Linked DNA regions of Homo sapiens: region 1 is linked to region 2. The links are contacts of gene promoters, found by promoter capture Hi-C in blood cells and fetal thymus (Javierre and others, 2016). All regions are on one chromosome and are shown on one strand. The core of a region is centred on a gene start or on the middle of the fragment in contact, and the rest is flanking DNA. Distances in the headings are between cores, read along the strand shown. Region 1 overlaps PPA1 (inorganic pyrophosphatase 1). Region 2 holds the start of PCBD1 (pterin-4 alpha-carbinolamine dehydratase 1).

Region 1 (6,500 bases), core at 1-2,500, 660 kb before region 2:
GGTAGAATTCTCGCCTGCTAAATCAGGTACTTCCAGTTTGTAGGCCTCAGGCTACAGCTTGGGGTGAGTGACTCATCTGTAAAATCAATGTTTAGCACACTTTTTTTTTATTATTATACTTTAAGTTTTAGGGTATATGTGCACAAAGTGCAGGTTTGTTACATATGTATACATGTGCCATGTTGCATGTTGGTGTGCTGCACCCATTAACTCATCATTTAGCATTAGGTATATCTCCTAATACTATCCTTTCCCCCTCCCCCCACCCCACAACAGGCCCCGGTGTGTGATGTTCCCCTTCCTGTGTCCACGTGTTCTCATTGTTCAATTCCCACCTATGAGTGAGAAATGCGGTGTTTGGTTTTTTGTCCTTGCAACAGTTTGCTGAGAATGATGGTTTCCAGCTTCATCCATGTCCCTACAAAGGACATGAACTCATCATTTTTTATGCATGGAATACTAGCACACTTTCAAATGCATGTAGATGCTGTAGTAATACTTGTCTCAGCCAGGCGTGGCGACTAACGTCTATAATCCTAGCACTTTGGGAGGCAGAGGCAGGAGGACCGCTTGAGGCCAAGAGTTCAAGACCAACCTGACCAACATAGCAAGACCCTGTCTCTTAAAAAACATTTTTTTAAAGAGAGAGAGAGAGAGAGACGGGGTCTCACTCTGTCATCCAGACTGGAGTACAGTGACGCAATCATAGCTCACTGCAGCCTCCAACTCCTGGTCTCAAGCAATCCTCCTGCCTCAGCCTCCTAAGTAGCTGGGCCTACAGGTGTGCACCACCACACCTGGCTAATTGTTTTTTAATTATGTTTTTGGAGATGAAGTCACACTATGTTGAGCAGGCTGGTCTCTAATTCCTAGCCTCAAGTGATCCTCCTGCCTATGCATCCCTAGTAGCTGGGACTACAGGTGCAAGCCATCCTGCCCAGCTCTGTACTTGTAAGGAGGGGGTGTTCCACATACTTTAGCAGGAATTACTACTAAAGAACAACCTTCTTCTAGACATCTGGCTACAATTCAAAGAGTTGCTACTAGGTGAACAACAGTGATATTTAGGATTTTTCAGGGCAACTGATATGAGAAATTCAATGAATTTTATAGCAACAGAGTTGCTATAAAAACTATTACTGTTTTTATGCATTCTAATGATTCCAATATTCACGCACTTAAAAAATACTGATTTTAAGAAATTTCGTACTACCCAGTTACAAATTCATTCCTTCTTCTTTAATCCCAACTGGTTTCAGCTTTTACTTAGCTGGATCTTGGATTTACTATCTTGTTACTCCCACTGTTAGGACTTCCCAGAACTCCATCCTCCAATCCTACCATGCTTTGGAGTCTCAGTCATTGCTCTGGCATCAGAGCTCTCAGCTCTCTGTTAACAGTTTCAGAAAAGAAGGAAGTTAAGTCTCCCTAGAGGGATGATTTTGATAAACTCAATAATTACCTTGCTGATAAACCAGTGGGGGATAAGGGAAAAGGCAAACTATAACTTTAGCTCTTGTTCCCAAAGTCAGAAATATAACTGTCTATTTCAGGCCAGGTATGGTGGCTCGTGCCTGTAAACCTAGCACTTTGGGAGGCTGAGGCAAGAGGATTGCTTAGACTAGGAGTTCAAGACCAGCCTGAGCAACATAGACAGACCCTGTCTCTACAAAAAAAAAAAAAAAAAAAAGTCTATTTCCCTTCCCAGATTTACAATCATTTTATCAAGTAGTCAAGATGTTACAACAAAACATTAAAGATGTCCAGATTCTAAGGAAACTGGAAACTCAACAACTCTACATTATGTCACTCCATTAATCAAAAATATTTAAAATAAAAATGTTTCAGGAATAGAAGAAATATCTCCTATATCTTGGTTAGGTGTGTAACTTCACTAATTAAACAGGAATATTAATCACAGTAGTATGGTGAGGCCCCGTCTCATCTCCAAACTGGTTAGGGTCTTATGGACCAAGTCAGTAGTCTGACAAGTTGTTTACTAATAAATAGGCTACGGCCATTTGGTAGGCTGTTATTACTAATGCAGTTAAGTACATATATAGGGAACATGCTCTTAATTTAATTACAGCACGTCTTTAAATCCTAGCAGTTAAGTTCAATGTGTCTTTATTGAGACTTATTTCTTATTTATTTATTTTATTTTATTTTTTGAGACAGAGTTTCGCTCTTGTTACCCAGGCTGGAGCACAATGGTGCAATCTCGGCTCACTGCAACCTCCGTCTCCCGGGTTCAAGCAATTCTCCTGCCTCAGCCTCCCGAGTAGCTGGGATTACAGGCATGCACCACCATGCCCAGCTAATTTTTGTATTTTTAGTAGAGACAGGGTTTCTCCATGTTGGTCAGGCTGGTCTCGAGCTCCCGACCTCAGGTGATCCGCCCACCTTGGCCCCCCAAAGTGTTGGGATTACAGGCATGAGCCACCGCGCCCAGCATTGAGATTTATTTCTAACCCTGGATTTGGTAAATTCGATGAACTATACTACAGAATTATACCAAGTGGCTGACATTAGCATTTTCAAGTTGACTCATTGTGTGTTTCTCTAGATAACTTCAGAAATCTAGTAAATACCAGGCTTAGAAAGAAACACAAAAATCACCCTGTGGTCCCACCACTCTTATTTATTTATTTATTTATTTAGAGACAGAGTCTCACCTGTCACCCAGGCTGAAGTGCAGTGGCATGATCTCAGCTCACTGCAACCTCCGTCTCCGGGGCTCAAGTGATCCTCCTACCTCTGCCTCCTGGACCACAGGCACCTGCCACCACACCCAGCTAATTTTTTTTTTTCTATTTTTGGTAAAGACCGGGTTTCACCATGTTGCTGAGGCTGGTCATGAACTCCTGAGCTCAAGCAATTCGTCCACCTAGGCTGCCCAGAGTGCTAGAATTACGGGCATAAGCCACGGCACCCAGCCCACCCCCCATTTTTTAATCTTTATTGTTTTGCAATAAAATTTGGAGAAAAAACAGTAGAGGTAGAGAGAATTTTCTTCTAAATTTATCTAGAGCATAAACATAAAGCAAGAAACTAATCCAAACCAAGCTTTAACTTTTTTTTTTTTTTTGGAACTTATAGACTAGTTTTGGAGTATAAAATCCCTATCAGAAGAGCTCACGTAGTTAAAAGAAAATGTTCCATCCCCATAAAGATGCTTTCGAAAAGGTATACCAGATTTCACCATTTCCAAGAATACTTTATCTTATTCACTGCTCACCAAATGACAATGGCTCTTAATTCTAAGTTTTGGCTGTAAAGTTGGTTATATGATTCTAGAAGGATATACTCTAAGTTGTTAAAAGTATATGGATACCTGAAGTATTTCATCGAAAGTGACAGAAGTCTATTTGAGAAGCTATCAGAAAGAAATACGATGACCGAAGTTCACACTGTTGTGCCCCTTATTCACTTAGAATTGTGACTTAGCAAAGAAAGACATGACTTACACCAACCCAAAAAACATTTGTTCAACAAATTGTGTTAAGATTCCAAGGGAGATCATTAACTTATTAAAGTAAAGAAATTAAAACACATACACACAAAACTTTTAGTAATACTCATTTGTTTTCCAGTTACATAGATTTTCTACTCATTGCAGCTCAAACAAATGCCTGTATTTGCTACTACACACTACCATATGTACCTGTGTAGAGCAATAACTTAATTTGTCATGTCATAATTAAGAATAAGCTGCTGGCTGGGTGTGGGAGCGCACACCTGTAATCCCAGCACTTTGGGAGCTGAGGTGGGTGGACTGTTTGAGCTCAGGAGTTCGAGACCAGCGAAAGCCTGTCTCTACCAATACAAAAAAATTAGCCAGGTACGGTGGTGTGTGCCTGTAGTCCCAGCTACTCAGGAGACTGAGGTGGGAGGATTGCTCGAGCCCAGGAGATGGAGCCTGCAGTGAGCCAAGATCACAGCACTGCATGGGTGACAGAGTGAGACCCTGTCTTAAAAAAAAAAAGAAAAAGAAAGAAAAAGCTGCTATTTTTGCTATTTTTTCTTTTCAGATAAGCTTTATGATGACTAAATTTTGAAAACAGATATTCTAAGCATAATCTGTTTATTTTCCTGTCTTTACAAAATCAAGCAAAAGGGTCTGCATTTCCAGTTGTCAAACTTTTCTGTTTTGCAATGACTAATAATTTTGAGCGTGGAAACTTCCCCAAGAAAAATGCATTTATGCCAAATTGCAGATAATATTCTGTTAAGTTTCTGAAGCATCAATCTATTTGATTAGAGGCTTGACTTTCTTTCAGAAGGGGAAAAAAGAAACACATATTCCATATTTATATATGCTTCTATACGCTCCCAACAATCACCTGAAAAAAATAGAACCCTACATTGTCAGAACTAGAATTTAACATGAAAGTTTAAGATATGGAATAGAAAAATATCTGATTTCTAAAACTAAAAAATCAGGTCATGATATTTGAGCACTTTAAGATTTAGAGAAAGCTTTTATCTACCCAGTGTTTCATACTGTTTATACCATGTTTTGGAAAATTTCTGGTATCTCAGAAGTTTTATGTTAGAAGATACTCTGAGCTATAGGTGCTTTTATATTTGATCCTAAAATTGACCCAGAGCAAAGGACATCCCTACAATTTAAAAATATCCAGTGAGCCCTTGCCTTTACCTTCTCTACCCACTGGATTCGGAAATAATCAAAGCAGGGTACGCGAGTCACAAGATTTTCCAGAACTGGCTGGACTGATTACCTAATGGCATATGCCAAACTGAATATCCACATTAAAAGGTCCTGATATGGGTTGGACACAGTGGCTCACGCCTGCAACCCCAGCACTTCTGGAGGCTGAGGTGGGCAGATCGCTTGAAACCAGGAGTTCGAGACCAGCCTGGGCAACATAGGGAAACCCTGTCTCTACAAAAAAATAGAAAAATTAGCTGGGCGTGGTGGTGTATGCCTGTGGTTCCAGCTATTCAGGAGGCTGGAGCAGGAGGATCACTTGTGCCTGAGAGGTTGAAGCTGCAGTAAGCCAAGATCATGCCACTGCACACCAGCCTGAGTGACAAAGTGAAACCCTATCTCAAAAAAAAAAAAAAAAAAAAAAAAAGTCTGATATGGATATGAGCCCTTGGGCATTTTTCCTTAGTCTGATATCAATATGAGCCCTTGGACATTTTTCCTTAGTGGAGCTGACTGAGCTGTGTTAAAGGTACATGCTCACTAGATCATGACATTCCCTCATTATAATCCCTCGGATGACTGACCATATTAGGAATAAAGTCCAAGGCCAAGCCCGTGAGAATGTATTCATGTAAACTTAATCACAATAGATTTTTTATACAAAAGAAAGAAAATCACACTCTAATGAATCAAGTTAATCAGATTTTTTTTTTAAGGCTATAATCCAAAATGATGTCTACCACACCTTTATTTGTGTTTTAAACAAGTAACTTCCTTTAAAACAAAACAAAAGAATTCCTTCCAGCCTCTCAGGCAGGAAGGCTTCTGCCCAAGGTCCACTGAGGTCTAGACTACTGGTAAAATCCAGAGTCATAAGAACTTGTGCTTTTGAGCTGGGACAGGGCGTGCCAAGGGCAGAGTCTTCCTTTGAGTAATCCACTTTATAGACACAACCAGTCCCTTATAAGGCTTCAGTGTCTGAGAGTAATCTAAGTGAACACACTTAACAGGACACCAAAATGTAGCCTGTTTCCTATTTTGGAGTAACCTGAAGCAGCAATAAGAGTAGGTACCAAAACATCTATGATCATTCTGGTCCTTGGTAGGAATACAGTCACTTAGAACACTGGGAAAATAGCTCTATGTCAAGAAAATGTTTTCCTACCTGTAGCATACCTGTATGCCAGGGTATTATCAATAAACTTAGGGTCATCATTTTATACCTCTTCATTGCTCAAAATGGTCTGAGATGCTACAGTATGATATACATGCTATTATACAACAAGCAGATAATTCAAGCCAACCCAATGGGGCCAATTGAAGAGGGAAGGATTCTGCAGTTTATATCAACTCCCAGGAAATCAGATGTAACAAATTCGAGTTTCTGAATAAATACCACTCTGACACTCCCACAGGAAAAACACATGCCAATTAGAAGTCCCTCCTGTATTTGTGGCACATAATTGGCCTAGGGCTGTTTGCTCCATTGCCTCTAATTGGAGTCTTACCCAGGAAGGCTCCTGGGAAGCAATGTAAAAATTGGAATTTCAGGCAGTACAGAACTGCAGCAAACTTCCTGGTAGAAGTGCAATGAATGTGTCTATTTCTATCTAATAGTCAGGCCCAGAAAAACAGTAAGACAGCACACACAAGAACAAAATTACTATTATTCTAGACGTGCACTGCAAAGTGATGTTCGTGTTGTATATTGACATCTAGCTAAAGAAAGTCAATAACCTATGTAACTCTTACAACTCAAAAACCTTTGTACTCAATGTGAATCAAACTTCCTTACTGAAGGAAAAAAACTGAAAGGTAGAAAAAGAAT
Region 2 (6,158 bases), core at 1,258-3,757:
GTCTTTGAGCAATAGGCTGGGAGGCCTCAAGGGTGGCACCCTGCCCAGGAGGTGGGGTCCAGGCTCGTCTGCCGATAGGCCCTCAGGTCTTGGGTTTTAACACTCCACACACACACAAGGGAAATCACAAAAGCAATGTAATTCATATGACGGGGACAGAGAAGCACTCTTCCCCCACCCTGCCCTCAAAGCCTTACGGACCTTCCCTCCATGAGATTATTACATCAGTGAGGGCGTAAAAGCAAAATAAATCCCAGATGCAAATATGTTACTCCACAACCTCTCAGGAAGAGTACCCATGACTCTCCCCCCTTCCTTTTCCTATTATGTACTTCATCATATGCACCCCACGTCCCTACCGTAACTTTCACGTGTATTGAAGAGGAAACAGGCCTAGAGAGGGGAAACGACTTGTCTGCTGTTCTTTCCCGCCCACCCCTAGCCAGTGATGGCGCAGTGTTGTCTGTGTGTCAGCATTGCTGGGGCTGGACGAAGGAGCTACATTTAAAATAAGTGTCCATCCCATTCTTAGCCACACTGCAGCTGACCGCCGTTGGCACTACCTCTAGTAGGTCCTCAGTCATGCTCCCAGGCAGCCTCTGGTCCTGAGCCGCCAGGGCTAGGTTTCTCTGGTTTTCCGTCTGCTTTTCTGGCTGGTTGGGAAGCTCAGGCCAAAGTGGAAGGAACTTGGCCAAAGGCAGCTGGCAAACCTAGTGCCCCATCCTATTTACCTAATGTGCGAAGTGCCCTCAAGGCAGCCCAAATTGGCACAATTCAGGCCATGAGTGGAACCTCAGAGAAAGCAAGGAAGCAAGGGTCAGTTTCATCCTAGGAGGATCCAGGTCTAGGAGCTTAACAGATCCCAGAACCTAGGCTTCTAGAGTAGCACCACCCCAGGGCAGAAATAGAGTGCTGAATTGAAAAGATACCCTTAGGGGTGGGGAGGGAATGTGAGGGAGGTTGATTTAGCTTTTATGAGGCAGCCTGCAGACTGGACACCATGTGTTGATTGGCAGGAGTTTTGAGACCCGCTTTCACCATTTACCAGCCAGGTGGCTGTACCTCTCTTGGCAGAACCTCCACCTCCACAGATCATCATGAGGTGCCAATGGGACACTTTAGGAAACTCCACTGCTATAAAGCAAATGTCATCTGCATTACAAAAAAAAAACTTCCTAAGGCAAGCAGGCTTGTGATGGGCCTGGTAGCATTTGGGGTAGCTGAAGCATCGCAGTGCTTTCCTAAGTCCGTCTTTTTTCCCTGCTGTTTTCCCTCCTGAAAACGTGAGCTCTCTCTGGACTGATGTAGCTTGGCCCCTCTCTTCCCCTCGGCTCTGGATGACTATAGGGATTGAATGGCAGCAGCGATTTGCATCATCTGCCCAGTAGGTAGGTCTCTACTCCAGAGCTGGCCTTCTCCCCGTGGCTGACCGCCTGGTCCGTGTATCTAGACAACCAGAAGTCAGCCAAAGCATCAGAGCCCACTGTTTACTTCCTTGGCTCTTAAAGGGGTGGGTGAGTCCAGGTGAGCTCTTAGGAGGCTTCCCTTTCTCGGTAGAGCCTTCTGGAACCCCCCAGGTCGCACAGCCTGCGGCTGAACTGACAAACCTTCCAGGTGCCGGCTCTGGAGACAGAGAGGGGGACGCTGCCCCGTTTGCCTCCTCTGGCGAGGTGTGGGGAGTGGTTACCGATTTCCCAAGCCTGCATCTCTGGGACCTCAGCGCCCCTCACAAACAGCCCCACTCATCCTCCCTCCCCCAAGTCCCTCTCCTATCAAAAGGCCCTCCCAGTCTTGCCTGCTCCGAAGGCCTGTGGACCAGAAATGGTCTGATGAAGCTCGCGAGCTTACAGCAGAGCAAGGGCCCCGCCCCCGCCCCCGCCCCGGGGGTGGGTGGGGGAAGCTCACGGGAGGAGGGCTGCTCCAGCGCCACCAAGCCCCCGTGGCCTGGCACGGGCCTCAAGCCGGCGCGGGGAGTGGCTCTGGGGCCAGCATACCGGCGCAGAGCGTGAGTCCCAGGCAGACCCCGTACCCAGAGTGCCAGCGGGAAGGGGCAGCGGACAGGCACGCACACGAGCGCGCAAACTCAGCCTCCCTCTCGCTCCCACCCCAGTATAAAGCAGAATCGGGCCACCAAGGGGACGAGATCCGTGGACTCCTCCACGACTGTCTTCCCCGGCCCAGGAAGGTCGTAGGCCCCGCCCCCGGAAGGGTCCCGGAACAAGCACTGGCCGGGGTCAGGGCAGGCCTGGCCTCCCAACTGGGTGGGATTCGAACCCGCCACCGCCCCTCTCAGGGCTTCAGCTTCCCCTCCCCGCCGCCAGCGACAGAGAGCCGGGCAGAGACCCCACTTTCGGACCCCGGCGGCTCCGCAGGGGACTCGAAAAGACTTTCCCCCGCCCCTTCCCGCTCCCACCTCGCCCGCGGCTGCCCCGGCCCCGCTGCCCCGATCGCGGCCGCGCACCCCTGGACTCACCATGGCGCGGGCGGCAGCAGGTGGCCAGCGGAGAGGGCAGGCGGCGGCCGGGCGCGCAGGCTGCCGTCCCGGGGCGGGGCCGCGCTCGGGCCGCCCTCCGGTAATGATTAACGTCCCCAGCCAGGGACGCGCTCGGCCTGCTTGCTTCCAGCACTTTCCTCGCTGCTCAGAGCCATCCTCCGTGCTTGTTTCAGGGAGCTAGGGTGAAGCATGAGGGCTCCAAATGCCCGCTTCTGGGTTGGAATCCCACCCCGCCGCTTACAGCTGGGTGGCCCTGGGCGCCAGAATACCTATTTTTTTCTTTATAAAAATCTCTTATTTGGATATAATTGACATGCAATAAATTGCACATATTCAACGTGTACAATTTGATAAATTTTAATGTTTCCCTCGTGAGACCATCACCGAGATCAACATTATGAACATATCATCATCCCTGCAAGTTTTCCCTTGCCCTTTGGTAACCCCTTCCTCCCGAAACCACCTGGCCAGGCAAGCACTGATGTACTTTAGGTCACTATAAATTAGTTTGCATTTTCTAGAATTTTATGTAAATGGACCATAGAGTATATACTAGGCAGGATAACTGTTTTGGGGTTCAGCCATGTTGTTGCCTATATCAATGGTTTCTTCCTTTTATGGCTAAGTAAAATTTATTTTATAGTATTGCATTGTACAGATAGACTACAATTTGTTTAGCGATTCACTATTGGACATTTGCGTTGTTTACCTTTTGGCTATTACAAATAAAGCTGCTGCGAATATGGTGCACAAATCTTCGAAAGTACGTATGTTTTAATTTTCCTTGAGTAAACACTTAGGAATGGAATGCCTGGGTCATGTGGTAGGTGGACTTTTATAACTTATTAGGAAACTGCCATACTGTTTTGCAAAATGGTTGTATCATTTTATATTCCTAGCAGCAGTGTATGAAGGTTGCAGTTCTCTGTCCTCACCAACACTTGATATAGTCAGCCTTTTAAATTTTAATTGGTGTGTAGCAGTATCTCATTGTGGTTTTGAGTTTCCTTGATTAGTAATTGTATTGAATGTCTTTTCATGTACTTATTTGCTAAGGATAAGTTTTTTTTATTGAATAGCATGTTTGAATTTCCTGCCCATTAAAAAAGAAATTGGGTTGTCTTCTTATCGAGTTTTGAGGGTGTTTTATTCTGGATATAAGGACATGATCAGGCAGTGATTTGCAAATATTTTCTTTGCATTATCTTATGGTGCCTTTCAAAGAGCAAACGTTCTTAATTTTGATGAAATCCAATATATCAAATGTTTCTTTTATGGATTTCTATTTTGATGTTGTACACATAGAAATCTTGGCCTAACCCAAGATCAAAAGTTTTCTCCTATGTTTTATAGCTTTTGGTTTTACATTTAGTCTGTGATCCACTTTGAGTAAATATTTTTATATGCTTCAAGTTATAGATCCAGATGCACTTTTGCACATGGCGACTCAGTTATTCCTTTCTCCACTGAGTTGTCTTTGCACCTTTGTAAAATATCAATTGACTGTATACATGTGGGTTTATTTCTGAGCCCTTTCTTCTGTTCCATTGATCTGTTTGTCTGTCATGACAGAACACTACCTTGTCTTGATTATTATAGCTTTATAATAAGTCTTAGAGTCAGATTAGAAAAGTCCTCTCACATTTCACATTTTTCTATTAACTTTTATTCTTGTGCTCCACTTTTATTCCCCGCCCCCCACCACCGCCCATAGCAGCCTCTCTAATGTGTTAATGTGTATTTTTGTTTGCACAGGTTCTTGCAAAATGTGTGGTGTTGTTTCGTCTATGTGTATTTTTAAATTTATGTAAATGGTATTATGTAAATATATTACATTTCTCAGTCTGTTTCTTACAAAACAGAGTATTTAGTGGAAAATTAAGATCTACCCATGTTGCTATATGTATATTCAATCTGTAGCTTTTAACTGCAGCCTAGTATTTTGTAATGAGAATCTGCCATGGGTTTCTTGTTCTATCAGTGATGGACACTCAGGTTCCCTTCAACTTTCTGCTGCTACCACCACCTCCCAAGCCCGTGAGCATGTGGGCACACAAACACATACGTACACAGAGTTAAACAACAATGCTGCTGCAGTGAACATCTCTAATTGCTCCCTGGGCTGTGGGCAGTTTCTTAGGCAACTTAAGTATATCCATACCCTATAAATCCAGCAATTCCCCCCATGGGTGTGTATCTCAAAATAGTTCTAGATGATGTCCAGGATGGGGACACCAGTCCTCATTCTCTCCTGCATGGTGTGAGGGGGTACTATTTCCATATGCATCTTACACATACATACTCACACTTCCCATTAGCCAGCTTTTTATTTTTTTGTCAGGCTAATAGCTATAAAATGAGAGCTTGTTGTGATGCAGGATTTTTCTTGACCCCTTTGCTGAGGTTGCAGCAGGGAGTGCCTTATCTACTCAGCTTGCCAGGCCCCATCTGGCTTGTGTTACAGCCCATGGCTCACAAGGCCACTGCGACTGTATGCTCAGCCCCTGGCGGGAGGGAGCATGTGACCGAGTGAATGCAGGGTCCAGCCAGCTGCACTGAGCCATGACACAGGAACAGGCTCTGTGTGGGGCCCACAGCCAGATCAGGTGTGTCACCCCAAGGAGACTGTGGCAGCACCCAGGCAGGGGTGCCTGAAGCCCCAGAGAGGGGTGTTACAGTGTGCTAAATAGCTCTTTTATCTCCACCATCTGCAGCCTGATGGACAGCGGCATGTTGGCAGCTCAGGCGGCCCCTTTCTCCACTCTGGCCCGTGGCTCCTGGACCAGCTTGGCCCTGCTGCAGCTTCTGTTCTGTGGGGCAGCTGCCCTCCACCAGTGAGGGTAGAGGGCCAGCGTTACAGCCTTTGTGGGTGCCCACATTTGGTGGGTCCTGAGCTCTTGTTCTGCATCCAAGAAGAATGAGGTCATGCTGACAGTTGAAGGGTGATGAGGATGGAGAATTTTATTGACGATGAAACAGCTCTCAGTGGAGAGGGATTGAGAAGGTGGGGTTGTCTATCTCAGTGTGGCTGAGTCTAGGGGGTTTTATAGGCACAGGATTGGGGAGGGGCGGGCTGTAGGTAGTATTAGAAAAGGCAACATTTGATTGGTTAAAAAGCATTATTCAGAAAGAACCAATCAGGAAAGGGTGGGCAAACAGGAACAGAAGTTCTCACCCTGGTTTGAGGGGTTTCATCCCAAACCAGCAGTCCAGGCTGTTTTTGGCTTGAAGGTGGGGTTTCACTGGGGACCCACCCCCATCTGCCTAGGAAATTGTCTGCCTCCTGCCGCTTTCAATTGTTTTACTCTACATTGTTTTCTGATGACTAATGATTTTGAGAACCTCTTCATATGCTTGTTACCATTTGGGGGTTACTATTTGTGAATTGCTTTTTAATATCCTTTGCCAATTTTTGAGAATTTTTAGTGCTCTCTTTTTTTAGTTGGTTTGTGGGTGTTTATATAAAATCTAGACATTAATTGCTTGTCAGTTTTGATATTGCAAATATCTCCTCTCATTCTGCCATCTGTATACTGACTTCTTGCATGAGATCCATGATGTCTGTGGGCAGAAATCTTATATTTTGGTGTAATAAGATTTATCTTTTTTCCCTCTGCCTTATAATTTTGTGCATTTGAAAATTTATTTGATAAGTCCTCTCCCC

Evidence for each region. The method cuts DNA at HindIII sites, captures the fragments that hold promoters and counts their contacts. A CHiCAGO score of 5 or more calls a contact.
Region 1: a fragment that was not itself captured here is called in contact with the fragment with the promoter of PCBD1 in region 2 in 1 of 17 cell types (total B cells); the score reaches 6.1 in total B cells.

The regions. Positions count from the first base shown.
Region 1 is chr10:70,222,577-70,229,076 of GRCh38, forward strand. The region is part of intron 2 of PPA1 (inorganic pyrophosphatase 1); the gene reads right to left. Among named protein-coding and RNA genes, the nearest start is that of PPA1, 7.6 kb to the right of the region's middle. RefSeq lists an enhancer at 1-165. The HindIII fragment of the contact is 3,628 bases long and covers 1-3,064 here.
Region 2 is chr10:70,886,058-70,892,215 of GRCh38, forward strand. PCBD1 (pterin-4 alpha-carbinolamine dehydratase 1) reads right to left here and starts at 2,508. Exons shown (of 4, transcript NM_000281.4): 1 at 2,474-2,508. The coding sequence starts at 2,476. RefSeq lists silencers at 1,765-2,044, 2,375-2,624. The HindIII fragment of the contact is 14,850 bases long and covers 1-6,158 here.